Linked DNA regions of Homo sapiens: regions 2, 3, 4, 5, 6 and 7 are each linked to region 1. The links are contacts of gene promoters, found by promoter capture Hi-C in blood cells and fetal thymus (Javierre and others, 2016). All regions are on one chromosome and are shown on one strand. Each heading gives the region's core, a stretch centred on a gene start or on the middle of the fragment in contact. The rest is flanking DNA. Distances are from core to core; before and after follow the strand shown. Region 1 holds the start of FEM1C (fem-1 homolog C). Region 2 has its middle 40 kb from the start of APC. Region 3 overlaps SRP19 (signal recognition particle 19). Region 4 overlaps REEP5 (receptor accessory protein 5). Region 5 has its middle 20 kb from the start of REEP5. Region 6 has its middle 17 kb from the start of DCP2. Region 7 overlaps DCP2 (decapping mRNA 2).

Region 1 (3,926 bases), core at 485-2,984:
CGTATGCCCATGTCGGTTTGACACTTCCAAATCAGCTTTGTGTTCTACAAGGTACTTCACTATTTCCAAATGGCCATCGAAACACGCAGCTCGAAGAGGAGTTGAATTGGTTAAAGTCGTGTTGTTGACAGATGCTCCATGATTTAACAAGGACTGGACCACCTTCAGATGTCCTGCTGCAGAAGCGGCCCATAAAGGGGGAGCCCCCTCAATGGTTTCGCCATCAAAATTGACGGAGCCCCCAACTTCTATGGAGGCACTGCATTGCTCTAGGAGGAATTCCACCATGTCAAGGTGCCCATACCTGGCGGCCATCAAGAGTGGCGTGGCCCCATTTGTTTTTTCAGAGATCAAGGAGGAAACCTCCTCTTTGGATTTGCTTGCCAACAATTTGGTGAGAAGCCGGAGTTTGCCATCCCGAGCTGCGTTAAATACTGCTGTCTTTAGATCCATTTATGTCCAGTTGAGAGGCTGTGCTTTATTTATCTTTCAAAGCAGAGCTCCAGTTTAACTCTATCGACACAGGCAAGAGTCACAGGAACCAAAGTCCAATGTTAATTGCTGCACCCCAGAACGGATACACAACCACGAAGAGTATGTTCCGTCCTACTGCTTTCCAACATCTGACAACCAGGGCACCAAACTAGAGAAAGAAAAAAAAAGTAGCAGCATTTAATTTTCTATAGAAGAAGGCAAAACACTTCTTAATTTCCACTTCTGTGGGAAGAAAGGAATAAAAGCTATACTTCAGGCACTACTCCATCCCACACACCCCCCCCACCCCCAAAGAAAAGGTGGTAAAGAAAAATACAGAAGGATACACAGAGACCCAAATGTTCTGGTCGCAGGCAGTCTCCTCCATGTGCGGAAAATTTAAACACTACAGGCAGCCCGTTTTCTCGCCTCCAGCTCTAACCAGCCAAGCTTTGTTCTAGTTTTGCTTTGCACACGCCCAGGGAGAGTACAACCGAAAGAGGCAGGAGACTCGGGTTCAGAAATGTTTCTCTTTCTTGCAACTGCAGGAGAGCTGGCCAAGGGCGCCAGGCTGGAAGGCCTGAGGCCGGGTTTCGAGAAAGAACAAAAAGGTCGGACACACCAAACCCCGGCTAAGGCCAAAACTGTGCCCCGAAAGATTCTCTTTCCTTTAAAACTACTCACGGCTCTCAGGAAATCCGCCTGCCTTTTAGTCATTAACTTCGCCCGCCCCATTTCGATCACCCCCCACCCCCCGCCAAGGGATGATCCGCAGGTTCCTCAAACCACAGTCGCCCCAACACAACCTTCCCCTCTCCCTGTTCCAGACAACGGCAGCCCCCTCCCAATCTCCTCCATCGACCACAACCCCCTCCCGATGGGCCAAGCTGTGGCCTCCAGCCCGCTGCCCGCCTTCGGCTCCCCCGGCGCCCTCCTTCCCGCCCAGGCCTTCCGCGGGCACCTCAGGCCCCGGCCCGAGCCCTGGCAGGCCGCTGCCGCCGCCACTACCTGCCCGGGGACTAGTCCTCCCCGCCGCCGCTGGTCACTCGGGCTTTGTCCGTCCCCTTCAAAGGGAAACCGTTGTCCCCACCGCCGCCCGGGCCGCCCTGCTCCGCCTGCGGCCGCACAGCTCCTCCATGCTCCGCGCCCCAAAGGAATGAATCCGGCCGCGCTGTTCGCCACGCCCCGCCACCCGAGCTGCCTCCCGCCCTTAGTCGGCTCGGACTGCAGCGGCTGCAGCGACTGCTGCGACGGATGGTGTAATGGGCTGCGAGCCGGGGGCCGGACAAGCCTGAGCGTCACATCACTGACTGTGCCGCCACGCCATTGGGCCGGGGGAGGGCGGCGGCCGCGGCCAGCAACAGCCTAGGCGCGGGGCGGGGCGTCGCGGCCGGGGTGGGGCGACGGGGAGGGGGCGGGGCCTGAACTACTGGGAGGACGTGCCTGCGTGCAACGCGCTGGGGGGCGGGGCGCTGCGAGGGGGCGGATCTGTGCCCATCGAAGCGGCCCGAGGCAGCTCGAGTTCTGAGATCTCGCTGGCTCTTCTCCTCTCGGATTTTCGGGGTGCTCCCTTAGGGAATCTTTCGGTCCCATCTCAGAGACCCCAGAAGGGAAGTGTATTAGTGCGTTTTCACGCTGCTGATAAAGACATACCCGAGATTGGGTAATTTATAAAGATAAAAAGATTTAATGCACTCAGAGTTCCACGTGGCTGGGGAGGCCTCACAATCAAGCCAGAAGGGGAAAGGCACGTCTTACATGGCAGCAGGCAAGAGAGGAAAATCAGAGCCAAGGAAAAAGGGAAACCCCATATAAAACAATCAGCTCTCCTGAGACGTACTCACTACCACCAGAGCAGCATGGGGGAAACAGCCTTCTTGATTCAATTATCTCCCACTAGGTCCCTCCCACAATATGTGGGAATCATGGGAGCTAAAATTCAAATTTGGGTGCGGACCAGTATTACCCTCACACACGTGAAGTCTCTCGGACTAGTCTTCCGTCCTTACTTTGGTGGGCCCTGGAAATTACCAAGCTCGTAATTACACCTCAGAACACACACGGAGGAAACTGAAATTTCAGAAAATGTGATTAGTTTTGGAGGCTGTCAAACTGACTCTCTTTCTAAAGTAGCCTCTAAAAAGCATAAAGGCTACGAGGAATGGTAAACCCTAAGAGCAATGTAAAGTCAATGAGGTCAGGTTCTTGAGCTCTGAGTAATAAATCGGGAACTAAAGCTTAAAAGGTTATATATATGAATGAAAAGAATTACTTCTTCATATAGTAGTTGATAAACCTCTGGAATTTGATGCTAAAACCTACGTTGCATTAAACTAGGATGAAAAAGTTTAAATGTGTTTGGGAAATAACGCCCATAATGAATCCTGATGAGAAAACAGAATTTTTGAAAATGGACCTTCAATCACTTTGTTTGAGGGAACTTAAGCTCACATAATTCCTTAGTACCACTAGGAGAAATAGAATATTACAGTAGGCAGTCTGACCCTCAGCATATGTAATCCATAACGTTATGTTAGAAGTCATGCAGCACTAAAAACATTTATAAAAAATCACAACTTCATTTTTGTATATTGTAGTGTTGTTCAGAAGTTTATGTAGTTTTGCATAATTGAAATAATTTTCATACAACTATATATTTTGCTTTTCCTTTCTATACTCTAAACGTTTCTTATGTTTTTACAGTCTTAATAATTTTTAAGTATAGCATAGTATTTCCCTTAGGTAGTCAGTATCAGACTACACTCAACATCAGATTCCCAAAACTGAAGTTAAGGTAATTGCCACTGAGAAGAAAATATAAAAGAATAGAGTATAAAGGATAAGATTGACCATCCATAAAAATTAACCAGCCAAGAGGACTGGCTGTTTTATCCCCAGCATATGTCACAGTTCTATACTCTCCCAGGGTACAGATAACAGTGTACAGTGTCCCAACCAAGGCCTAACCTGAGCTGACCTGTCTCTCTCACCTAATTCAATAAGATGTAAACATTCACATCAGCCATCTTCAAACTGAGCTCTGTATCCCTCATGGGATTGTTAAGGGATAGACGGACACTTAGTTTAAAGGCTACCAATTTCTGCTGTGGCTCACACCTGTAATCCCAGAACTTTCGGAGGCTGAGACAGGCAGATTGCTTGAACCCAAGAGGTCGAGACCAGCCTGGACAACATGGTGAAATCCCAACTCCACACACACGCACACACACATGCACGCACACGCACACACACACAAAAAATTAGTCAGGCATGGCATGCAGGAGGCTGAGGTGGCAGGATCACCTGAGCTGAGCTGGGGAGATCAAGGCTATAGTGAGCCATGATCACACCACTGTGCTGCAGCCTGGGCCACAGAAGGAAACTCTGTCAAAAAAAAAAAAAAAAAAAGGCTACCAGTTTCTGAATCTTCAATTTACACCTACGTTCTTTCC
Region 2 (3,926 bases), core at 378-2,877, 2.8 Mb before region 1:
CTGTAGCCAACCTATCATTATAAATAACAAACAAGTGTAGTTTTGACAAGAATCCTGGCTGATATTTTCTTAGTCATTAATGAGTAAGATGAAAATGAAACAACAAAGATATATGTTAGAACTTTATTTATTTGTCTATAATGTGAGCGACTTGGAAGAATTTGATAATGGTTTTTAAATACCGGAATAATATTTCCTCAATCTGTGTGCTATTCGCAAAGTAAGAGCAATAGACGTGACACGCTTTTAACTTTAATGTACAGCATTAACATTTTCTCCATCACTAGACTATCAACAAAACAATAAGTCAAGCCCAGATTTTGAGCATTTCTTGAGTTCCCTGGTGTAAATGCTCTCGCTCTGGCCAATTTCAAACTACCAATGTGACATCATTGAACTTAGTGTTTTGAGTAGATGTGCCCTAGAACATTATACAGTTTTTCCACCATTTAGATACAAGAGATGGAATGGCATCAGGAGCATAGGAAATGGTTAAATGTGAGAAAATGATTTGAAAGTGATGAGTTTTGAGTGCTTATTACCTTTGTTTTCAATATAATTTATTGAATTGCAATTTTATATTATTTAATTTTTAATAATAGCTGTGTGTAATTGCCAACTCATAAAATCTCTAAACTGACTTTCTCTCAGTTCTTTAAGCTGGTTCCAGTCTACTAAAGATCTTGGTGCAAGTCTCTGGATCCCTCCCCAACCCCAAATGACGGGGGAGCTGTAGCAGCATGAAGGGAGAGCGGATGCAAACATATGTTGTTTCTCTTGAGCCCCACCGCTCTCAACGTGCTGCTGGGGCTGCTTTGGTCTTGTGGGATGTTCCCCTGAGCTACTCAGACTGGTTGTTAGGGCGGATTATCAATGTCATCAGCCAAACCATAAACTGTGTCAAGATATTGATGTGAATTTCAGTGAAATAAATGATTTGGTTTTCTTTGTTAAATTTTATTCATTAAAATATGCTTTTATAAAATGAGGATTTATTGTAGAGGGCAATATTGTTATTCTGAAATGCCTTTCATTTTAAAGTAAACCTGGAAAGAGCACCACCAAAATGGTGACAATTCTTATCTTGAATGGTGAGATTTTTTTCTTTCTTCTTGAGATTTTCTGGAGTTTCCAAATTTTCTATGATAAACAGCTAAGATTTTGGTAGTATGAAAAACAATTGAGACAAATCTTTAGTAACTTGATATTCAAGTTACATTGGTGCTGTCCCTTTAAGTACTAGAAGAATACGTAGCACTTTCAGTAAAATAATGCCGAGGGAGGAGACATTGCTATGCTCAGTTTCATTTAAAAGCCAGATGTCCAGGAATTGGATATGGCTAATTATCAATTTCTACCCAGATGGAGAGTTTTCCTTTTTTTTTTTTTTTTGTCATTAGACAGAAAAGCACAGAGTCTCTGGCTGATTATTGCATTCAGCCACTTTAATTGGAAAGTTTTAAGAAATAGGTGGAGCTTAAAAGAAGGGAAGCTTAGTGTATCATGAGTGAAATGTTGATACAGGCACAAGAGAAACAAAAAAAGAAGAAACATGTATAATTGGTGTCATAAAGATTTTCAAACTTGCTCTATGACCAATTCAATTACTGCTGGAAATGGAATTCATACCTTCTCATGTCTGCCTTCCAAATTATACCAAGATTTAGCAGCTTATAACAAGAAGTATTTTTTTTTCACAGTTTCTATTGGTCAGGAATTTGAGCATGGTTTACCTAGGTACCCGTGCTTCAAGGTCTCTCATAAAGCTTTCAGCCAAGTCTGTGCTATCATCTGCAGCCTTGACTGGGAGAGTCACTTCCAAGCTCTCTCACATGATTGATGGCAGGGAGTTCCTCATGAACTGTTGGACTAAGAACCTCAGTTCTTCACTAGCTTTTGGGCAGAGGCCTCCCTCAATTCCACGTCAGGTGGGCCTCTCCATAAGGCAGTTTATGTTCTGGATTGGAGCATGTCTTCCACCTTGGTTCATCCATCATTTCTTGTCTTCTAGACACTTGCCAAATCTCTCATCAGCTGATGGAACATTCTTCATTCTCAATAGTCACAAATTTATTCCCTTTTATGCAGTTATTGGGCAGGGAACAGACCCAGGTTTTATCATGAAAGGGTGTTGCATTTTGTCAAATGCTTTTTCTGTATCAAATGATGTGATTACACATGAATTTTCTTCTGTAGCCTGTTGTATGTAGATAATGTAGATCACATTGATTTTCGAATATTGAACTAGCCATGCATACCTGGGAGAAATCCTACTTGCCATGTCATATTTTTTTTAAATATATTATTGGGTTTGATTTTCTAGTACACTCAAAATCCTCCATATCTGTGGGTTCTGCATCCATAAATTCAACCAACTGCAGATCACAAATATTTAGAAAAAGAACAATAAAAATAACAATATAACAATGAAAATAATAAAAATAAAAACCAATATAGTATAACAACAAGTTACATAGCATCTATCCTGTATTAGGTATTACAATCATGAAGTGCATAACAATATTTTAGTCAATAACAGACCACATATACAACGATGATTTCCTAAAATTATCATTCTATATTTTTGCTGTAACTTTTCTATGTTTAAATATACACACACCTACCATTGTGTTACCATTACCTACGGTATTCAGTGCAGTAACCTGTTGTATAAGTATGTAGCCTAGGAGCAATAAGCTAGATCATATATCCTATGTGTGTCCTAGGCTATACCATCTAGGCTTGTGTAAGTACATGCTATGATGTTTGCACAATAACAAAATCACCAAACGCATTTCTCAGAATGTATTCCTGTCGTTAAGCAGAGCATGTCTATAAAGTCATCTAGAGGTGATTTAACATATACAGAGGATATGCCTGGATTATATGCAAATACTGTGCCATTTTATATAAGAAACAAGTATCTGTGGAATTTGGTATTCTCAGGAGCTTGAAACCAATTCCCCATGGATTCCAAGAAAAAACAATGTTTCGTTGAGGATTTCTGTGTCTAAGTTTATGAGAAATATTGGTCTGTAATTTCCTTTTATTCTACTGTTTTTGTCTAGTTTGGGTATCAAAGTAATACTGGCCTCATAAAGTGAATAGAGAAGTAGTCCTTCTTCTTCTATTCTCTAGGATAGAATGTTTAAAATCAGAGCTTATTCTTCTCAGAATGTTTGGTAGAGTTCTCCAGTGAAACCATCTGGGTTTGGAGATTTCTTTTTCCAGAGCGTTTTAGTGGCAGTTCAATTTATTTCATGGTTATAGGACTATTCTGTTTCATCTTGTTTGAGCTTTGGTCATTTACGGTTTTCAAAAATTGGTCCATTTCTTCTAAAGTTGTTTAATTTATAAGTGTACATGTGTCCATGGTATTCCCTTTTATTCTTTTAATAGCTGCAAGAATTATAATTATATCCTGTTTCATGACTGATATTGGTAATTTGTGCCCCCTCTCTTTTTATTTTGTCAGGCTTGCTAGAGGTTTATCAACCAGCTTCATGTTCTATTGATTTCCCTATTGTTATTCTTTTCAATTTCATTGATTTCTGCTTTTATCTTTATTATTTCCTTCCTTTTGCTTTTTTTGAGTTTATTTTGCTCTTCATTTTTCTTGAGGTAGAAACTTAGGTGATTAATTTGGGATCTTTTCTAAGGTAATCATTTTATTTTTTTGAATGTAGTCATTTAGTGCTATGAATTTCCCTCTCAGCACCACCTTAGCTTCATTCCACCAATTTTGATATGTTGTATTTACATTTCCATTCAGTTCTGTATATTTTCTAAAACTTTCCTTTGAGACTTCCTCTTTGCTGAGGTATTATTTAGAATTGTGTCATTTAGCCCAGGCACAGTGGCTTACGCCTGTAATCCCAGCACTTTGGGAGGCCAAGGTGGGCAGATCACTTGAGGTCAGGAGTTCG
Region 3 (3,926 bases), core at 370-2,869, 2.7 Mb before region 1:
ATCTGATATCTAGGCAGCATGAATTGGCCTTTGGTTCCCTGCCACCCGACCCTTTTCTCCTGCCTCTTACTGCTCTAGTGATACCACTTATGCTATTGTCTATGGCAGGTTTATTTGTATCTATCCTGCTTATTTAAATAATAAGAAGACCATCGCAGAGGGAAGGCGAATCCCCATAAGTAAGGTAAGCAAGATGGCTGGCACCTTGATCCTCGAGGGAATGGGGGGTGTCATCCTGGTCGGGCCACGTAATCTTGTTAGAGCCGCAGGGGGTTCTCTTCACTGCATTTATTTAGGGCTTGAGAACACAGCCAAGAATTGGGGTGCGTTCCTCAGTGTTGGTGAAACCAGAAAGGCATTAATTCATAGCTGAAGGGATATTTTTTTAACGTCTCTTAATGAGCCTTTGTTTGTAAAGGAGTGGGGGCAGAGTGTAGAGTTCACATGTTTTTAAAACAAAGGTTATGACGGTGTTTCCCTTGATATAGGAAATCAAAATTATGACATTGTACGATACATTAATAATGTTCAGAATGTAGTTGAGATTTTTTTAAGTGTGTGAAGAAGACATGCAGAAAGTTCAGCCCTGTTGAGTTTTATTAAAGTGTCATTTGTATTTTGTAATATGACAGATTTAAGACACCTAGGTTTGATGCAGTGAATTCTCCCATGATGAGTACATCTGGGTGGTAACAAGCACTCAAAAAAGAAAACACTACAAGCATCCAGGAAGATTGCTTTATGTTCCCTCTCAGTCACTGTCGCCTCCGCATATGCTCAAAAATACCAGGATGACCACCGTTATGACTTCAACACCATAGATTACTTTTGCTGCTTTTTCAGTTTTCTGTAAATGGAATTACACACTATGTAATTTTGTATCTTTTTTTCACTGAACTTTAAGCTTTTGAGATTTACCTACATATTTGAATGTAGTTGAATTTTCATTGCTCTATAACAGGGTTTGTCAATAGCAGCACCATTGCCGATTTGAGCTAGATAATTGTTGTTGGGGGTTGTTCTGTGCATTTTAAGATGTTCAGCAGTATCCCTGGCCTCTACCCACTAGATGACAGGTCAGCCCCCTCCAGCCCCCCATCCCCTAGTTGTGACAATCAAAAATGTCTCCAAGCATTGCTAGATGTCTTTTGTGTGTGGGTAGGGGTAGGGAGGCTGAGGACAGAATTTCCCTGCTCAAAACTACTGCCCTGTCTCCTCTATAGTATCGCATGGTGTGAGTATGCCAAAGTCTTTTCTACCTTCTTTTTTGTTTGTTTTTTTAAGAGACAGGGTCTGGCTCTGTCACCCAGGCTGGAGTGCGGCAGTGTAGTCTCAGCGCACTGCAGGCTCCACCTCCTGGACTCAAGCCATCCTCCAACCTCAGCCTTCTGAGTAGCTGGGACTACAGGCACATGCCACCATGTCCGGCTACTTTGGTATTTTTTTGTAGCAATGAGATTTCTCCATGTTGTCCAGGCTTGTCTCAAACTCCTGAGCTGAAGTGATCTGCTGGGATTACAGGTGTGAGCCACCACACCTGGCCCTTTCTACTCTGGATGGAAAATTGGATTATTTCTATTAATAGTTTGAGGCTATTATAAATAGATGTTTTTTAGAGAACATATTTTTGCTTTTTTGTAGAACGCATCTGGGAATGGAATTGCAGGGCCATAGAGAATGCATATATTCAGCTTTAGTAGATACTAGCAGTTTTCTAAAGTGTTTGTATGTGTAATTGTTTAAGCAGTCAATAATCATTGAGCACCTACTATGTTGAGAGTACCATGCTAGGTGCTGGGGAATACACTGGTTAACAAAACAAAGCCCCTGCCCTCAGAAGTTTATGTTCTGTTGGAGGGGAGATGGGCACACAGTTACGCATTAGTGTTATTCCTAGGAATTTTTAAAATTACAATAGAAGCATCTGTACTTAATGAAAAAGGAAACCTAGGGTTTTGGTACTTGTTTGATTATAGTATTTGAAATTATTTACCCAACACTATGGCAGTGTCCACTTAAAGCACATATATTTAGTGTTTATGTTTTTAACTGTTCAGGCTGTTGAAAATCCTACAGCTACAGAGATTCAAGATGTATGTTCAGCAGTTGGACTTAACGTATTTCTTGAGGTATGACGTGGTTCTTCACTATTTTCCATACTCATCTAATTGATGTAATAACTTTCTTAAGTCCTGTTTTTCTTTTGTTTCGTTTATGTTAGAAAAATAAAATGTACTCTAGAGAATGGAATCGTGATGTCCAATACAGAGGCAGAGTCCGGGTCCAGCTCAAACAGGAAGATGGGAGCCTCTGCCTTGTACAGTTCCCATCACGTAAGCTTGTTTAAATGAATCAGTGGGGCTCAGGGATAGGTTTCTCCTACACAACACAAAAAAGGTTCTAAAACTGAAAGGTAAAAGTCAGAATTTGCATTCTGAAGATTAATTTAAAGACAGGACTACTGCTCATGGAGAGAAGCAGTAGTTCTAATTTCTTTGAGGTGAATGACCTCTTTGAAAATGTAATGAGACCCACTAAACATTTTTCAAAAAAATTGTTGTGTGAACATTTTATAAACCTCTGGAAGTCTGTCATTGCTCCCAGGTTAAGAATATAAAATTATTAAATCGTTGGATGTTAATTGCCATTTCAGATCCTAGAGGTCCTTGAGGTCTGTTAATATCTATAATATCTAATGATTCTATCATTAATAAATCTGAAAAGCAATATTGACTGAAAAAAGCAAGAGATATACATAGTGTGGTACCACTTAGGTAAATTTAAATACAAAATATTACTATTTATTGATAGATGCATATGTAATGTTGCTTATTGGCATTTTTTTGAAATGCTCTGTAAGGAAACACTCATTCTTAAGAGAGTAGTCACCTAATGGTGAGCGGGGTAGAGAGTAGAGACACGGGTTGATGGTCATAGAAGACTGTTGCATCATCTCTAGTGTTTTATTTTATGAAAAACAATAGCAAAACGACATCAATATAACAGAATGTTCTGAATATTAGGAAGATAAGTTTTTGTTTGCATGTTGTTTATTTTTCTGAATTTTCATCTCTGAAAATTTTAATTTTTTAAAACAGAGCTATTAATTTTTTCTTTCAGTTTAATAACCCCCTCAGTTTAATTAAACTGTCATTAAATTTACTTAAAAATAATGAAATCGTCAGACGAACTGACAGCTTGTTTGATTTTTTTTTTTTTTGAGATGGAGTCTCGCTCTGGCTGGAGTACAGTGGCGCGATCTCAGCTCACTGCAACCTCCGACTCCCTGGTTCAAGCGATTCTCCTGTCTCAGCCTCCCAAGTAGCTGGGACTACAGGCATGTGCCATCACACCCAGCTAACTTTTGTATTTTTGATAGAGATGGGGTTTCGCCATGTTGGCCAGAATGGTCTCGATCTCTTGACCTCGTGATCCACCCACCTCGGCCTCCCAAAGTGCTGGGATTACAGGCATAAGCCACTGCCCCCGGCCTGATTTTTTTAAAATAGAGAGACAAGGGTCTCACTGTGTTGCCCAGGCTAGTCTCAAACTCAAGCAATCTTCCCATCTTGGGGAGATCCCAAAATGCTGAGATTACAGGCGTTTGCCACCATGCCCAGCCTGCATGTTTGAACTTTTATTTTTAAAGACAAGGTCTCACTCTGTCATCGAGGTTGAGTGCAGTGGCACGATTATGGCACACTGCAGTCTTTTTTCTTTTTTTTTTTTTTTCTGAGACAGAGTTTTGCTCTTGTTGCCCAGGCTGCAGTGCAATGGCGTGATCTTGGCTCACCGCAACCTCCGCCTCCCGGGTTCAAGTGATTCTCCTGCCTCAGCCGTCTGAGTAGCTGGGATTTCAGGCATGAGCCACCAGACCCGGCTAATTTTGTATTTTTAGTAGAGATGGAGTTTCTCCATCTTGGTCA
Region 4 (3,926 bases), core at 592-3,091, 2.6 Mb before region 1:
TGAAGAAAACAAGGTTGAGCAGAGATGATTCTGGGCTGGAATCTCCTTCCCAAATTAAGTGTCATCTTTCAGAAAACCTAAGATATTCCCTGACCCATGACACAAGTAAGCTGTACATTCTCTAAGGACTTTAGGTGACAATGATGTGTCAATGTATGTTCACCAATTATAAAAAACAGCACTCTGACCAGGCACAATGGCTCACGCCTGTAATCGCAGCATTTTGGGAGGCCAAGGAGGGTGGATCACTTGAGGTCAGGAGTTCAAGGCCAGACTGGCCAACATGGTGATACCCCGTCTCTACTAAAAATACAAAAATTAGCCAGGCATAGTGGTGTGCACCTGTAGTCCCAGCTACTCGGGAGGCTGAAGCAGGAGAATTACTTGAACCCGGGAGGTGGAGCTGCAGTGAGCTGAGATCGTGCCACTGCACTCCAGCCTGGGCGACAGAGCAGGACTCCATCTCAAAAAAAAACAAAGACAAAAACATACCCCTCTTGTAGGTGATGCTGATGGTAGAGGAGGCTGTGTATGTGTAGGCGTAGTGGGTACATGGGAAATCTTTGTATCTTCTGCTCAATTTCACTGTGAACCTAAAATTGCTCTAAAAAATAAAATCCATTTAAAAACAAAAAAGAGAAAAAAAAACTTCACTTACCACCTAGGCATTCTATAATACCAGATTTTTAAAACTATTTTATTACCATCATGCCATTTTGGTTGTTTTGATCTGGAGAGAGTATCTGTCCCCATAAATCTAGATACCATATATATGCTAATAACTTCCAAATTTATATCTGCAGCTCAATCTCTCCATTGTACACTGCCTGGCAGTTAACTATTCACTGCTGAATGATGGTCACCAGCATGATCAGATTGTCATGGTAACACTGCTGCTTCAAAAATCCTATTACAGCAACCGGTCACTATCATTGCTCAAGGAAATAGCAGACACTGTTCCTTGCCTATCAATTAGCCAGTCCTTCCTACTCACCCACAGAGCCCTGATTTTATATACATGTACCTGGCAAATCTGTCTTGACTCAGGGAAGCTAGGCTCCTGCCCCAGGCCTAGGGGATAAATCAAAGTTAGTACAAATCCACCATGGTAATCCCATTGCTTTTTGCTAGATACTGACTTTCTTAGCCCCCTTGGAGTTAAGGGTATCCATGTGACACAGTTCTGACCAATGAAACAGAAAAGGAAATACGGTAGAAGGCTTTGGGACAAAATTTTCCTCTGCTGATAAAATATGAGAGGCGCACAAATAAAAGGTCTTCCAGCTTCCTGCTCTTGAAAGCCTTAGCGCTATATGGCAACAATCTTGTTATATATTAAGGAAACAGGCGTGGGCGAGGAAGATTATACTCCAAAGTCGCTGGAAAAGAGCATGGATTTCTGCTGTAGCGCCTTGAAATTTCAACCTCCAGACTTCTTACATGAGGTAATTCAAGGTCATTATTCTTTAGGCCACTGTAAATGGCTGCAGCTCACTGAACTGACATAAAAGGTGTGCATCATCACCAAAAGCTTTCTAAGCTAAGCTTAAGCTCGGTATTGGTCAAAATGTGCTCTTCTTCTTTTGCTGAGGTTTCATCTATCAATCAATATTTCAAAATACTTACAGCTAATGCTTACTTGGAGGGAGACAGGAAAGGGACAACCTTCCATACTATTTTTCAAATTATTTCAGACACAATAAATCCATCTGGAAAAACATCCACTTTTACAAGTTCTTAATTCAGATCTATTTTGTTCTTACCATGCAAAATAGATCAAATGCTTTTTTATATGTGAACTGTACAACCTTTTTATATTTCTGTTTTGAGTTCTTGCTTTTAGGACCAAGTTCACATTTCTTATGCATAAGATTTAATATTAAAAAATTGTTAGTCCAACTTATACTCAATGCTTAGGAACATATACACCATTGTACCAGTACAGAAGAAAACCACTAGCCATATCACATATTTTTAACTTGGAAGAACAAAACTTTACTGTGTTTTATTCTTTGAATAATGATGTCTTAAGCTGATTTAAGTACAGGAAAAAAATAATAAGACAAGGAACAAAAAATGAAAGTGAAAAAATAAATGAAAGAAAATACTCTTAGGAAGGTTTTTCCTTAAATCAATGAAAAGCTTAATGACACAAAGTTAAAGAACTATGACTATGATTAAGTCAATTTTCCTCTTTATATGTTAATGAAACTAACTCCCCTTAATTGAGCACTTACAGAATGCCTGATTTGTCCTAAACGTTTGACATATATTATCCCAACTCCCCCCAACCCTATCCCCACCTTTTACATATGAGAAAACTGAATTTTATAAAAGTTAAGCTGTTTGCTCAAGAGGTAATAATCAGCTCCATATACACATGCTTTTGGCTACTCACACCTAAGACACATAGGTACATACTATGTGTTCTGTGCATGGTTCATAAGTAACTCAGTTGCTACAATTCAAACTAGCCAAATGACATAAAATTAAGTAATAGTATGTCTTCACAGCATTGGCTTTATTATTCAAACCAGTTGTACCAATATCAACTATTTACCAGAGACTGACAGTGTGGAAAAAAAAGCAGTTCATTAAAATATATCTATATATCCATTTATACCCATATATATTTTAATTTTATCCATATATATGGATAAAAAGCTTTAAGATGTCCTATTGGTAAAGAACAGAAAGGAATCATCTTCTGGTCCATCTGCTTTATATTTTATTTCTAATGTGGTAACTTATGTTTAATAGCAAATATTCCAGAGGTTAAGATAGGTTCTTTGGAAATTGAATATGAAGAACATGGACCATAATGTTTATAATCCTTTTTGTTATGGCAGACACATAACTTGACCATCCTCCATGCCCACCATGCATGGGATTGCTTTTGGCTGTATTTATCAGAGAGTATGATGTAGGAATTCTTAGTAATTCAAAATGGTTTTCCTATTATCAGTACCTCAAATAAGAAGGAAAAAAGAATCAGACATTTTAAGACATAAACACTAGTTCGTTTCCATGCCAATAAGGAAAATATTTTTCTCCTTCATAGAAAAAAAGAAGGCAGGAAACTATGCGTGATCAGAAAGTTACATATCTTTTTCACTGCAGAGTATATGTGCTTTTAAAGCAAGAGAGAAAACCAACAAACAGTACGAGAAAGACTAATGAAAGACTGACCGGGCACAGTGGCTCATGTCTGTAATCCCAACACTTTGGGAGGCCAAGGCAGATGGATCACCTAAGGTCATGAGTTCAAGACCAGCCTGGCCAACATGGTGAAACCCCATCTCTATTAAAAACACAAAAAATTGGTGGCAGATGCCTGTAATCCCAGCTACTTGGGAGGCTGAGGCAGGAGAATCGCTTGAACCCGGGAGGTGGAGGCTGCAGTGAGCTGATTGCGCCACTGCACTCCAGCCTGGGCAACAAGAGGGAAACTCCATCAAGAAAGAAAGACAGAAAGAAAGAAAGACAGACAGACAGAAAGGAAAAGAAAGAAAAGAAAGAAAGAAAGGAAAGAAAGAAGAAAGAAAGAGAAAGAAAGAGAAAGAAAGAAAAAAAGAAAAGAAAAGAAAAAAGATTACAGAGGCAGTGGAGTGAGAATAGCTAGAGCCTGGGAGGTCAAGGCTGCAGTGAGTCATGATTGCACCACTGCACTGCAGCCTGGGTGACAGAGTATGACCCTGGCTAAAAAAAAAAAAAAAAAAAAAAAAAAATTAAGATGAGTCTATAGAATACCTATAATGAAGTATAAAGAAAAAAATGCAGTCATTCAGTGGTCAAATCTTTTGGTGTTTAATTACAGTGATCTCATTTACCACTATCCACCATTTTGTTTTTAAATGCAAAATGGAAGAGTCAGTCACAGTCAAATATAACAATGCGGAATGTGGACAGACATCCCTACACTTAAG
Region 5 (3,926 bases), core at 948-3,447, 2.6 Mb before region 1:
TCAGGTGATTCTCCTACTTCAGCCTCCCTAGTAGCTGGGACTACAGGTACATAATACCACGCCTTGCTAATTTTTGTATTTTTTGTAGAGATGGGGTTTCACCATGTTGCCCAGGCTGGTCTTGAACTCCTGAGCTCAAATGATCTTCCTGCCTCGGCCTCCCAAAGTGCTGGGATTACAGGCATGAACCACCACACCTGGCCAACTTTTATGTTTTTGATATATATTAATATATTCCTGTTGTTTAACTTTTGAAAATAATGAATATATATTACTTTTTAATACTACTTTTACAACCATAATCAAATCTGTTTTCATTACAAAGGGAAAAAATAACCACAACTCTACTGGAAAACCTGTAAGCCAGAATTTGGTTGAGATCTCACTGATAAATGGTTATTACCCTTATGACCTCCTGCCATCTCATAGTCTGCAAGTTAATTTTAATATTCTATATTGTTGTAAATGAAAATGTGAACTACATAAACTATACATATTTAAAGTGAATTGTGACTACATTTAGGATGTCTAGATGAGATGGAGCTTGCATTTTTCTGGTTTATTGACTTGGATAGTTATTTCTAATAAATCCAGCAATAACAGGACAAATGAAAGCTACCACAACAGGAAGGAATTAAAAACCGCAATCATTTTGTTGCCATTTTTGTTATTGCCATAGGTGGTAAGATTGATTTCCTTTTTGAATCCAAGGAACTGAGCTATAAATGACCCTTCCAAGGTGAACACGGGGAGAAAGCCTTCTATGCACAGTCAGCATTCTCTACCATCCATTTTGTTAGTCTGCAGGGCTGCAAGAAAAAGGGCCTTCATGGTGTGTAGATTGAGTTGTGGCTAAACTGGAGCATTTACTTGGGCACCTCTACAGCCCCTTCAGTGTCCTTTTTCCTCTGAGGATGAATACTCTTCTACTCCCACACTCATTTTCTTTATAATATCTGCTTTCAGAAAAAGTCTGAAATGTACTTATAATGTGCCACCACCTAAATAGGGAACAAACCTAGGGAAGTGTTGGGGCTGGAATGATCAAGTCTGGCACAGTCTCTAGACCTTGACTAAATAACTGAAGATGAGAGCTCCAAGACAACCTGCCCCTATATCTATATAGAGTGATGAATTTGTAGCTATAATAAAATATTTTACCCATAAAGTTCTGGCCCTATGGATGTGGGTGTTTTTATGCCTTTGTGGGTGTCTTTCTCTTCTATGTTTGGACTTGCTTTTTATGCCCCTATTTCTTTTTCTCTCTTCATTTCTTTTCTTTTCTCTTTACTTTTTCCTCTTAATTGGCCATAATATATTGTGAAAGCTGATTTCTTATTGACCTTATCAAGTAATTATATTTTCTATGTACTCTGTGTTAAGAATGAAACTCGGCTGGCACTTATTTGGAGGCTAGGGGTCAACTATGTTTTATATTCCATTATCACTAATTGACATTGCATTATTCATTTATTGGTTTATTTCTCCTATTGTGTAAACACCCTGAGAGCTGGGCCTTGGTCTCATTCTCTGCTGTATCCCAATGGGGTCCACTCTGCAGCCACAGGAGAGGTCCTTCATTTACCCTGTCCCAATCCCAATCCTTTCCTTTTCCCCTGAAAGTAACTACATCTTGAGTTTTATGTTCATTGCTTTCTTGCTTTCTTTATAGTTCTGTCGCCCATGATGCACCTCTAAACTCTGAAGCTTAATTTTCCTTCTAACTATATACATCTTTTAAGTCTCTTTTACCTACCCCTTCAATCCCCTTTGCCCCACCTTTTTCAACTTACTTCTGAAAGAAACTGGGTTGTTTTATCTGACTTGTAGAGTTTCCCACATCTGTATTTTGCTGATTGCATTCCCATGTAATTTACACTTGTCTGTTTTCTGTATTTTCTATAAATTGGTAGTGAGATTATGGCCTTGATCAGATTCAGGTACAATTTTCAGGCTAGACTCCTTTGTAGGTGACTTGTAGAAAATATGTAATAACTGATTGTCTCTCTCTGTGTGATGTTGGCAACCACTGATCCATTAATTCATCAGAAATTGAAAACTTCTCTACTTCTACTTGCTTACTTTGTATAGAAAAGACAGAATAAATGCTTAATGAAAGTGCATCTTTAGGTGTACAATATATAAAACAAATATATACAAATAAGAGAACTTACTAACCACAGACCTACAGTGAAAGATCTACTAAAAAGACATACTTCAGTTAGAAGAACAGTAAACCCAGGAAGAAAAAATTAGATGTAAGCAAACATGAAAAGCATAGAAATTGATAAGTTGGTAAGTACAATTAACTATCAATATAAAAAATAATTTGAGGGTTAAAAATAATATGGGGGCCAGGTGCAGTGGCTCACGCCTGTAATCGCAGCACTTAGGGAGGCCAAGGCGGGCAGATCATCTGAGGCCAGGAGTTCGAGACTAGTCTGGCAGACATGGCAAAACCCCGTCTCTACTAAAAATATATAAATTAGCTGGGCGTGATGGCATATGCCTGTAATTCCAGATACTCAGGAGGCTGAGGCAGGAGAATTGCTTGAACCGGGAGGTGGAGGTTGCAGTGAGCTGAGATTGCGCCATTGCACTCCAGCCTGGGCGACAAGAGTGAAACTCCACCTCAAAAAAATAAATTAAAAATAAAAACAATAATGTGGAAGTACTTACTAGGTAATTAAAGCTTGTTTAGGTTTGTGTCTTGTTCAGGAGAAGGAAAAAACACTGTGTATGTAATTGGAGACTTTATAGGAAAAATGTAGAGATATTCATGTTAAAAAAAATAGAAATGCTATGCATAGCCTTAAAACCAACAAAGAAGGAAAGAAGAATATAGAAAATTTCATCAGTCCCAAAGAAGCAACAGGAATAAAAAGAGAAAAAGAAAAAAAGAAAAAGGGTAGTAAAGCAAAGACCTAAATTAGATGGTAAAAATAAATTTAAATATACCAGGATGACTGACTATATAAGTTTATTAGATAGAATTCATTTACTAATAGATAAAAATCATCTCATTTGATTAACAAGCAAGCAAACAATAGTGTAAATAGTTCAAGGAGCCCACTTAAAACCATCCAGAAATTTCAAGATAAAAGTAAAGAAAAATATAACAATCAAATACTAATAAAAAAAAGAGTACGCAGAAATGCTAATAACATAATGGAATTAACAGCAAATGAATAGAATTATTATTATTATTATTTTTTTTTGAGACAGAGTCTCGCTCTGTCACCCAGGCTGGAGTGCAGTGGCACGATCTCGGCTCACTGCAACGTCTGCCTCCCAGGCTAAAGCGATTCTCATGCCTCAGCCTCCAAAGTAGTTGGGATTACAGGCACCCGCCATCACACCTGGCTAATTTTTGTATTTTTAGTAGAGATGGGTTTTTGCCATGTTGGCCAGGCTGGTCTCAAACTCATGACCTCAAGTGATCCCCCCAATTCAGCCTCCCAAAGCGCTGGGATTACAGGCATGAGTCACGAATAAAATTTAAGATGAAAAGCTTCATTTGGGGTAAAAATGAAAACTTTTTAATGATAGAATAATTTAAGTCAGGCGTGGTGACTCGTACCTGTAATCCTAGCACTTTGGAAGCCTGAGGTGATCGGATTACTAGAGTTCAGGAGTTGGAGACCAGCCTGGGCAACATGACAAAACCCCATCTCTACAAAAAGTACAAAAATTAGCCAGACGTGGTGGCGGGTGCCTGTAATCCCAGCTACTTTAGAGGCTGAAGTGGGAGGATTGTTTGAGCCCAGGATGCAGAGGTTGCAGTGAGCTGTGATCAAGCCACTGCACTCCAGCCTAGGGGGCAAAGTGAGAGTTTGTCTCAAAAAAAAAAAAAAAAAAGAAAAAGAAAGAAAGAATAACTTAGTATGAACCAGCACATCCCCAGCTGTGGTGGCTACAGGAAGAAA
Region 6 (3,926 bases), core at 943-3,442, 2.6 Mb before region 1:
GCCTGTTGGTCATTATTTGCCATTCTTTCCCAAACAAATATCTCTGAAGAAATGGCATTCCAAAGCCAGAGGTAGATAATCTTTAAGATTTATATACTTTTGGTTCACATAAGCTCACTATCGTGAAAATAATGGTATATGTGGGCAAATGTATGGAAATTGACAGTCCACTTTTACATATTAATAATAGAAAGGCTTGGACTTTTTAAGCATAAAAATTGCCTACATTTCAGAGCTTGCAGTGAGCCGAGATCGTGCCACTGCGCTCCAGCCTGGGAGACAGAGCGAGACTCCACGTCAAAAAAAAAAAAAAAATTGCGTATATTCTTTATTTCCAGCGGAGTCCTTTCATTGATTTGTATTAATTTTTCATATTCAAAGTTAGGAAAATTAACTTTTAGAAAGTCATTTACTACTAAAAATAATGAAACTCTTTTAAGTAGTAAAATAGAGTATACTGATTTTTGCTTAAAAAAGAAATTTCTTGGCCCTGTTGCTGGCCACCTGGCTCTCTGTCCTTAAACCAAATCCATCCCTCAGAGGCCACTAGCCAGCAAAGGCCAGATGCAGACCCTCCCAGTTTAATCAGAACAGTTGCCAAAATCTTGTTCATTTCCAACCTGATCTTTTATTACTCTGTCTCTGACTTGGACAGTGTGGTCTCCTTACCCCACACTTCCATTCCAATTCCGCATCCCTTCCCAAAATTCTGATTCTGCTTAAGACCATCTACATGTGCTGTTTGTACTTGGCTTCCAGGGTGCAGTTTGACTTTCCAGTCTCTCAAATATTTTTGATCTGGACTGTTTCCATCTCTTTTGCAGGGTGCTTAGTCGTGCTGACAGAAAGTTACATGGGATATAAAAATGTAATCTCAGGGTTGCTTGAAAAGTGTTGAATTGAAATGAAGCCTAAGCTGAGTGATTTTCAAGGTTAAAGGTCCTATTAGAGCCATTATATGGAAGTACTGCCAAGCAGATGGTTAAGTTGGTTACTCAGTGTTTCTTTAGTCTGTGGGACTTGAGGCGCAGTGCCAAACCCTGCAGCTCAGATCTCTTTCAGGCTTTCCCTGTGTACCCTGGTGACTCATTGTTTTTTTAAAGATGCAAATAATGTTAGCGAACTGTCTAATTCAACTCTTCCCCCTTGGACCCATGAGACAGTTTTCTGCAGATAGCATATTTTGCTCATGATATATCAATTTTATTATTGTAAATCAGAGTGTTCTCAACTTCTCTAAGTGTTGGTGGCCATTCTTGTTTGTGCCAAATTAGCAGGGTCTAAGCTTCTGTCTCTATTTCCAAGGTTACCGTCCTGCCAATCATCTTTTGCTCTCATCACTTTTTTTTAATGCTTCTTTGCTTTCCTAATAACCATGTATTCCAAATGTAGGTACAGACCTCTCCCTTGACTCCCCCAAAACATAGTGAGAGCAGACTTAGTGTGTTAGTTAGGACTCTTGGTTGCAAGAGACAAAAATTCTATTCAAACTGGTTTTAAAGAACAACAACAATGACAAAAAAGAGAATGTATTGGCTAAGGTAATGAAAGATCCAGGGAATATATGTAGTTTGAGGCTCGGTTGGATTCTAGGGCTCAAACAGTAAGATAAGAAATTACTCCATTACTCAGAGTAATGGAGTTTGAAAAAGAAAATAGAAAAGAAACAGAAAGTGGCTTCTCTTCATCTCTTTCTCCTGCTTTCTTCTGTTTTGGCTTCATTCTTATGCAGGCTTTCCTGAGTGGTAGCAGAGAAAGCACTGGAATCCCCAGGCTTATGTTCCTAGCACTTTAGCAAGCCCAACAGAAAGAAGAAGCATTTCTTTTCCAATCAGTTAAGAAGACATCCTCATGTTGGGTCTTTGGCAATTTGGCTTGGGTTCCTAGCTTTTTTTTTTTTTTTTTTTAATGGAGTCTCACTCTGTCACCCAGGCTGGAGTGCAGCAGTGTGATCTCTATAGAATGAATAAGACTTAGTATTTGTTTTTTGTTTTGTTTTGTTTTGTTTTTTTTGAGACGGAGTCTTGCTCTGTCGCCCAGGCTGGAGTGCAATGGCACGATCTCGGCTCACTGCAACCTCCGCCTCCTGGGTTCAAGTGATTCTCCAGCCTCAGCCTCCTGAGTAGCTGGGATTACAGGTGTGTGCCACCACGCCCAGCTAATGTTTGTTTGTTTTTTTAATAGAGACGGGGTTTTGCCACGTTGGCCAGGCTGGTCTCGAACTATAATTTTTTGTTGTTTGTTTGCTTGAGACAGAGTCTCACCCTGCCACCAAGCTGGAGTGCAGTGGCAGGATCTCGGCTTACCGCAACCTCCAACTCCCTGGTTCAAGTGATTCTCCAGCCTCAGCCTCCCGAGTAGCTGGGATTACAGACACGTGCCACCATGCCCAGCTAATTTTTGTTAGAGACGGGGTTTCGCCATGTTGGCCAGGCTGGTCTTGAACTCCTGACCTTCGGTGATTCACCTGCCTTGGCCTCCTAAAGTGCTAGGATTACAGGCGTGAGTCATCATGCCTGGCCTCCTGGCTTATTTCTTAAATAATCATGGTGACAAGTGCTCTTGGAGGTTGGAGTGAGGGTGGAGGGGTTAGAAATGAGGAATCAAACCCACTCAGAGTACATGAATGAGAATGGGGGAGGAGTTGCTCCTGAAGGAAAAACAGCTTTATGCTTCCAGAGAGAAAATGAATGCTGAGAAGTTTTTTTGTTTGTTTGGTTTTTGTTTTTTGTTTTTTAAAGAGGCAGATGCTCACTGCACTTGGACTTTAGCAAAGAAAATTACTTTTCAGAAAAGGAAAAAGAATCCCCCTTAAAATGAAAGCATGTTGATATTCTGGCTCCTAGATCCATCTGTGCAGGGGCCTGCTCTTCCAGCTGTCACCCTCCTTAGGCCTCTGGTGCTAGGAGCATCTTTGAAATCATAGATGACAGATGGGGATTCTCTGACCTGGAGCCCTACCCAGGCTGCAGGCCCTCAACTATAGCCTTTTTTTTTTTTTTTTCCTAGAAAGAGGAAATCCTTCCTGCCTGCTTCTTCTCTCTTCTTCCAACATCATAATCCTCTTTCTGCAGTGCCTCAACTCTGCTCAGAGGAAGATAAAGCTTCGCATCATTCTTCAGAGCTGTTTACCTTCAATTGTCTCAAACTCTTCTGTCTGTAATAGTTTTGGAGCTTTAATTTTGTATGCTAAAAGGGCCTATTAAAATGTTTTTATCCAAAGAAAAGTGCACTCTCAAGCCTTAACTGAGAACTACCTTTGCCTCTACATGAGGAGAGGATTACTTATGTCAGTTTGGACTACTGTCTACATATAACAGAAAAAAACCAGTATCATCGCTTAAACAAAGTAGACATTTATTTCTCTCTCTCGCTCAGTAAAAGAATTCTAGAAATAGGCACTCCAGAGCTGGTTTAGTGGCTCCAAGGTCATCAGGGACCAGAGAGTTCTATTTTGCTACTCTGCTCAGGTTACCGATTGCTGGCGACAGGAAGGGACAAAGAGGAAGGGGTGGAAAAGAGGCTTCTGCTTTCTTTTAACAACTTCCCAAGGGTTCTAGACCACCGTTATGCTTGTATCTCCTTGGCCAAATGCAGTTTCACATCTAGCAGCATATGGCCGTGAGACAGACAAGGACATGTAGGCTTTTAAATGAGGCCTTTAACTGAGAGGAGGGAGGAGATTGGACATTGGAGAGGGCAGCTCCCAGTGATGGTGTCTGTCATATTGTTGACTTGCCAGTCAAGGGCTCTGTAATACTGACTGGCCTGGAACCCACTGTGCTGCTTTGATCTTGGAGGACCAGGATGCCTTTTCACTACCCTCTTTGCTGCTCTCAAGCCCTTATTTCAGCTGATATTTTGGTAGTCTATCTATGGCTCCTAAGATTTAGTCAATATAATTTTAGGATCATATCAGAAAATAG
Region 7 (3,926 bases), core at 531-3,030, 2.6 Mb before region 1:
GGTTGATAATATTTATATTCTATTTTGTAAATCTACGTCTGTTATATTTTGTGCTATTTGTTGATTGTAAAAGCTGAACAATAATGATACAGTGTAAATAGATATGTAGTTTTTACAGTAGAGGCAAGTCTTCAGCGGCTAGTTTCTTTTCCATCGGGGCATAGTCAGGAGCCCTTTGTAAGTGTCTTGCAGAATATCTGAATGAATTCTCCGTTCTTATATCCTACAAATTGGTCAAAATGATGGTACCATTTAGTTTTTTCTTTGGGGAAAGAAATATATGCTTTTGTTACTATTGCTTGATTCCTTCTAGCCTTTTTGTTTGTTTGTTTTTGAGACGGAGTCTTGCTCGTTTGCCCAGGCTGGAGGCAATGATGTGGTCTCAGCTCACTGCAACCCGTGTCTCCTGGGTTCAAGCGATTCTCCTGCCTCATCCTCCCGAGTAGCTGGGATTACAGGCACCCTCCACCACACCATTTTTTATATTTTTAGTGGAGACGGGGTTTCACCATGTGTTAGCCAGGCTGGTCTTGAACTCCTGACCTCAGGTGATCCGCCTGCCATGGCCTCCCAAAGTGCTGGGATTACAGGCGGGAGCCACCATGCCAGGCCCCTTCTGGCTATTCTTGAAATCCATTTTTTTGAGGGGAGGGGACAGTTGGCTTTCTGTTCTAACTTTGGTGTTTTTGCTTCACATTTGGACTATGATTCTGTTGTACATGTACTCCTCTCTAATATGTCCAAAGTTTCTAGCTGCTTTTTTCAACCCTTCTCATCCGCTTCCTTATCTTATCCTCAATCATACTTTCGACAGAATCCTTTTTTCCCTTTAGACTGCACTCTTGGGGACCTCCATCCTCCTAATCCAGTCTGGACTCGTTGCTCCTCAGACTTGCCTAGCAACTAGAATACTAGAATTCACTTTCACAACTCTCTGAGATGGTACTTACTCTTTCTTGAATATCATGTTTCATCCTTTCTTGGTTTTCATTCTTGTTTTGCTTGTGCGCATTTTAAGTTAATTTCTTTGAGGGGGTTCATTAGGAAGTAAACTGAGTCCTTTAATGTGTAAAATACCTGTTTCTGTTTTCACACTTAGTTCCCACATGGTCTAGCGTCCACATTTTGAGTACCAGTGTCTAGGTGATATCCTTAATACTACCTTCCACTGCTTCCGTTGGTTATAGTAATAATAGTTTTTTTTCCCCCCGAGGGCTCTTACTTAGTTACTGTACATTTAAAGAAAAATACAGTTGCTCTGAAAAAGGAATACTCTTTTAAATTTCTTTTAGGATAATAATTCCATCTTTCAACCCTCACTCCTGTTTTCTTCTGGTTCCTCAATTATGTTTTCTTCAGCGTCAGTTAAAAAACTTTCTTGTCATGCTTCACATTTTCCTTAGATGGTAGGTGATTTTTGGATGCCTTTTTATATTAATGATGAGACATTTGGGAGGTTTATTCATTAATACGCTTCTCCTTTATGTGAGTAGATAGGGAGCTGGCTCTTACACTTGAGGGTTTTTCATTTTTTAAAATACAGATAAAGCAGACTTTAAAGGATAAAGGTGGTGGTTATCAGTGTTGATTAATCAAGTTGGGCTCAAGGATTTCACAGGTCTTAAATGCCATCACACAGACTGCCATGCCAAGGGCATTCTGAATGCCAATTACAGATTGAAGTTCCTTCAGAAACCAAGATGTTATCAAAAACTGATGAAGTCTGGGTTTCTCTTCAAGTAAGACAAACACATTTCTTACATAGAGAAAATAGACTACTTGGTTCTGAAAGTTAAAACACTACGCTGAATAATTCCCCTCCCCTTCCCCACAAGTCCCTAAGGCAATATTACGGTTGCCTCTGACAGTTAAAATTTCAGCATTTCAACAGAGCGGGCTGAGGAGAACTGGGAAAAATGAAAAGCAAAATTAATGTAATTGATATGGGGGGTATTTTTTTAAAAAAATAGAGACGGGGTCTCACATTGTTGACCAGGCTGAATTTGAACTCCTTGGCTTTAGTAGCTGGAATTTCAGGCATGTACTACCATGCCTGGCAAGGCAGTATAGAAACATAAAGACTCACAGTAGGATTGACTTACGAGACCTTTCAGCACTGAAGGATATGAGTTTCCAAGTATGTATAGTCTATGGAATGACAGTGTAGTGGATCAAAAATAGACACTGCAAAATTTCACAACACTGGGGATGGAAGGAAGATATTAGAAGCATCCAGACTGGGGAAAAAAAAAGGTCATATACAAAACATTAAGAATCTGAATGGCTTTTGTCCTTGGCACAAATTAGAAGTAAAAAGAAAAAAAATCTGAATGGCTTCGATCTTCTCAATATCAAAATTGCAAGTTGGAATTAAGAACACTTTTGAAGATTCTGAAAGAAAATCATTTCCAACTTAGAATTCTTTACCCAAATTATCAAGTATGAGGATAAAGACATTTTAGATGTGTAGTATCTTAAAATATAGTATTTACCTCCCCTTTGCATCCTTCCTTCACAGGATATGTGAGGATTACTTCATGAAAACAAGGAAGTGAATTAAGGAGGATGAAAACAAAAAGACAAGACACATGACCTCTGTGGGATAAAGGCACAGGGAACTATAGGATGCTTGTGAAAGGGCAGTGTAGAGTTGACAGATGTGTACCAGGTGTAGAGGACAGCTGATCCAGACTAGAACAGATCAGAAGACTAGAAGTCTTAAAGATGAAACTGATGAATCTGAATTGTGGGGAAAAAAAATCCAAAATGAAACTGATGGATCTGAAAAGAAAATTCACAATGGAGATGATTATGTCAGAATATCCAAAAAGGAGCCAGGAGGGCATAAGGAGTTGGATCCTGGTCACATACACATCTAGATGGAGTTTCACCTGCTGAACTGGGCCAAAGTGTAAAACTAGCTGCATTTGACTTGAGTTGTATATACTGGGCCTGATCAACCGCCTGGAGAGATAACCATACCCAACTATATTGATCATTGACTAGAGACATCCTGAGCTGACAACCAGCCATCATTTATCATGGACTGTGCTAAAACCTTCCAGATACGTAAATTTACAGTAGCCCTTAAAAGCTCTGCCTAACCTTGCCTGAATGCAACATGATTTAGCTGCTTGCTAGACTTGTGTCTCCCAAATTGCAATCTCTAAAAACCTGATTAAAATGCCTTTTGCTACTCCAGTGTTGCAGTGTTGTTTTTATTTCTTAATTAAAAAAAAAAAAAAAAAATATATATATATATATATATATTTGAGACAGTGTCTCGTCACCCAGGCTGGAATGTAGTGACATGATCATAGCCCACTGCAGCCTTGAACACCTCGGCTCAAGTGATCCTCCTGCCTTAGCCTCCCAAGCAGCTAGGACTACAGATGCATGCCACCATATCTGGCTAATTTTTAAATTCCTTTGTTGAGAAGGGCCTCTTGTAATTGGAGAAGAGTATTCTTATGCTTATTTGAAACTTGGAAACAGCCAAGAATTATTTACTATGATAGTGATTAAGCAAGTGATCAAACTGGGTGGTACTATTTTTAATTTTAAAAAATGACTCTAAAAACCAGTGGACTTGAATCTGTCTCTAATGGTTACTGGGAAAAAGGATTACCAAAAATGCTTAACATTGGAAAAAATAAGTGATAGCTGCTTAATGACTGCTCTGAATTACAACATTGACTTAGATTGATGAATTTTAACTTGTATGTTTCATAATAAAGGGGTTCATTATCCTAATTACATATGTGTACATGCAATATTAGTGTATATTAATATAAATGTATATTTATATGTAAAAGAAATATGTCTTTCCTTTCCCCAATGTACATGGAAAAGACAATTTAGGGTTTTGAAAAGTGAGTGTATTTGAAAGTTTGAACTGAGGCTGTGCAGGTGAGGCTTTTTGGGAA

The links. The method cuts DNA at HindIII sites, captures the fragments that hold promoters and counts their contacts. A CHiCAGO score of 5 or more calls a contact.
Region 2: a contact is called between a fragment that was not itself captured here and the fragment with the promoter of FEM1C in region 1, in 1 of 17 cell types (non-activated CD4 T cells). The highest score is 7.2, in non-activated CD4 T cells.
Region 3: a contact is called between a fragment that was not itself captured here and the fragment with the promoter of FEM1C in region 1, in 5 of 17 cell types (non-activated CD4 T cells, naive CD4 T cells, total CD4 T cells and 2 more). The highest score is 10.8, in non-activated CD4 T cells.
Region 4: a contact is called between a fragment that was not itself captured here and the fragment with the promoter of FEM1C in region 1, in 1 of 17 cell types (non-activated CD4 T cells). The highest score is 5.0, in non-activated CD4 T cells.
Region 5: a contact is called between a fragment that was not itself captured here and the fragment with the promoter of FEM1C in region 1, in 2 of 17 cell types (M2 macrophages and naive CD8 T cells). The highest score is 9.5, in M2 macrophages.
Region 6: a fragment that was not itself captured here is called in contact with the fragment with the promoter of FEM1C in region 1 in 3 of 17 cell types (M2 macrophages, non-activated CD4 T cells and activated CD4 T cells); the score reaches 7.3 in M2 macrophages.
Region 7: a fragment that was not itself captured here is called in contact with the fragment with the promoter of FEM1C in region 1 in 10 of 17 cell types (activated CD4 T cells, non-activated CD4 T cells, naive CD4 T cells and 7 more); the score reaches 14.9 in activated CD4 T cells.

Annotation. Positions count from the first base shown.
Region 1 is chr5:115,543,041-115,546,966 of GRCh38, forward strand. It overlaps FEM1C (fem-1 homolog C), which reads right to left and starts at 1,735. Exons shown (of 3, transcript NM_020177.3): 1 at 1,483-1,735; 2 at 1-643. The coding sequence starts at 453. RefSeq lists enhancers at 1,284-2,050, 1,592-1,886 and silencers at 1,316-1,485, 1,536-1,585, 1,686-2,025. The HindIII fragment of the contact is 1,787 bases long and covers 923-2,709 here.
Region 2 is chr5:112,696,190-112,700,115 of GRCh38, forward strand. No RefSeq gene overlaps it. Among named protein-coding and RNA genes, the nearest start is that of APC, 40 kb to the right of the region's middle. The HindIII fragment of the contact is 274 bases long and covers 1,491-1,764 here.
Region 3 is chr5:112,862,400-112,866,325 of GRCh38, forward strand. It overlaps SRP19 (signal recognition particle 19), which reads left to right. Exons shown (of 5, transcript NM_003135.3): 2 at 109-184; 3 at 2,058-2,129; 4 at 2,222-2,333. Among named protein-coding and RNA genes, the nearest start is that of SRP19, 3.1 kb to the left of the region's middle. The HindIII fragment of the contact is 1,434 bases long and covers 903-2,336 here.
Region 4 is chr5:112,909,836-112,913,761 of GRCh38, forward strand. All of the region lies in intron 2 of REEP5 (receptor accessory protein 5), which reads right to left. Among named protein-coding and RNA genes, the nearest start is that of REEP5, 10 kb to the right of the region's middle. The HindIII fragment of the contact is 597 bases long and covers 1,544-2,140 here.
Region 5 is chr5:112,940,103-112,944,028 of GRCh38, forward strand. No RefSeq gene overlaps it. Among named protein-coding and RNA genes, the nearest start is that of REEP5, 20 kb to the left of the region's middle. The HindIII fragment of the contact is 985 bases long and covers 1,706-2,690 here.
Region 6 is chr5:112,957,592-112,961,517 of GRCh38, forward strand. No RefSeq gene overlaps it. Among named protein-coding and RNA genes, the nearest start is that of DCP2, 17 kb to the right of the region's middle. RefSeq lists an enhancer at 2,401-2,695. The HindIII fragment of the contact is 1,819 bases long and covers 1,284-3,102 here.
Region 7 is chr5:112,981,456-112,985,381 of GRCh38, forward strand. The region is part of intron 1 of DCP2 (decapping mRNA 2); the gene reads left to right. Among named protein-coding and RNA genes, the nearest start is that of DCP2, 6.6 kb to the left of the region's middle. RefSeq lists an enhancer at 1-522. The HindIII fragment of the contact is 7,597 bases long and covers 1-3,926 here.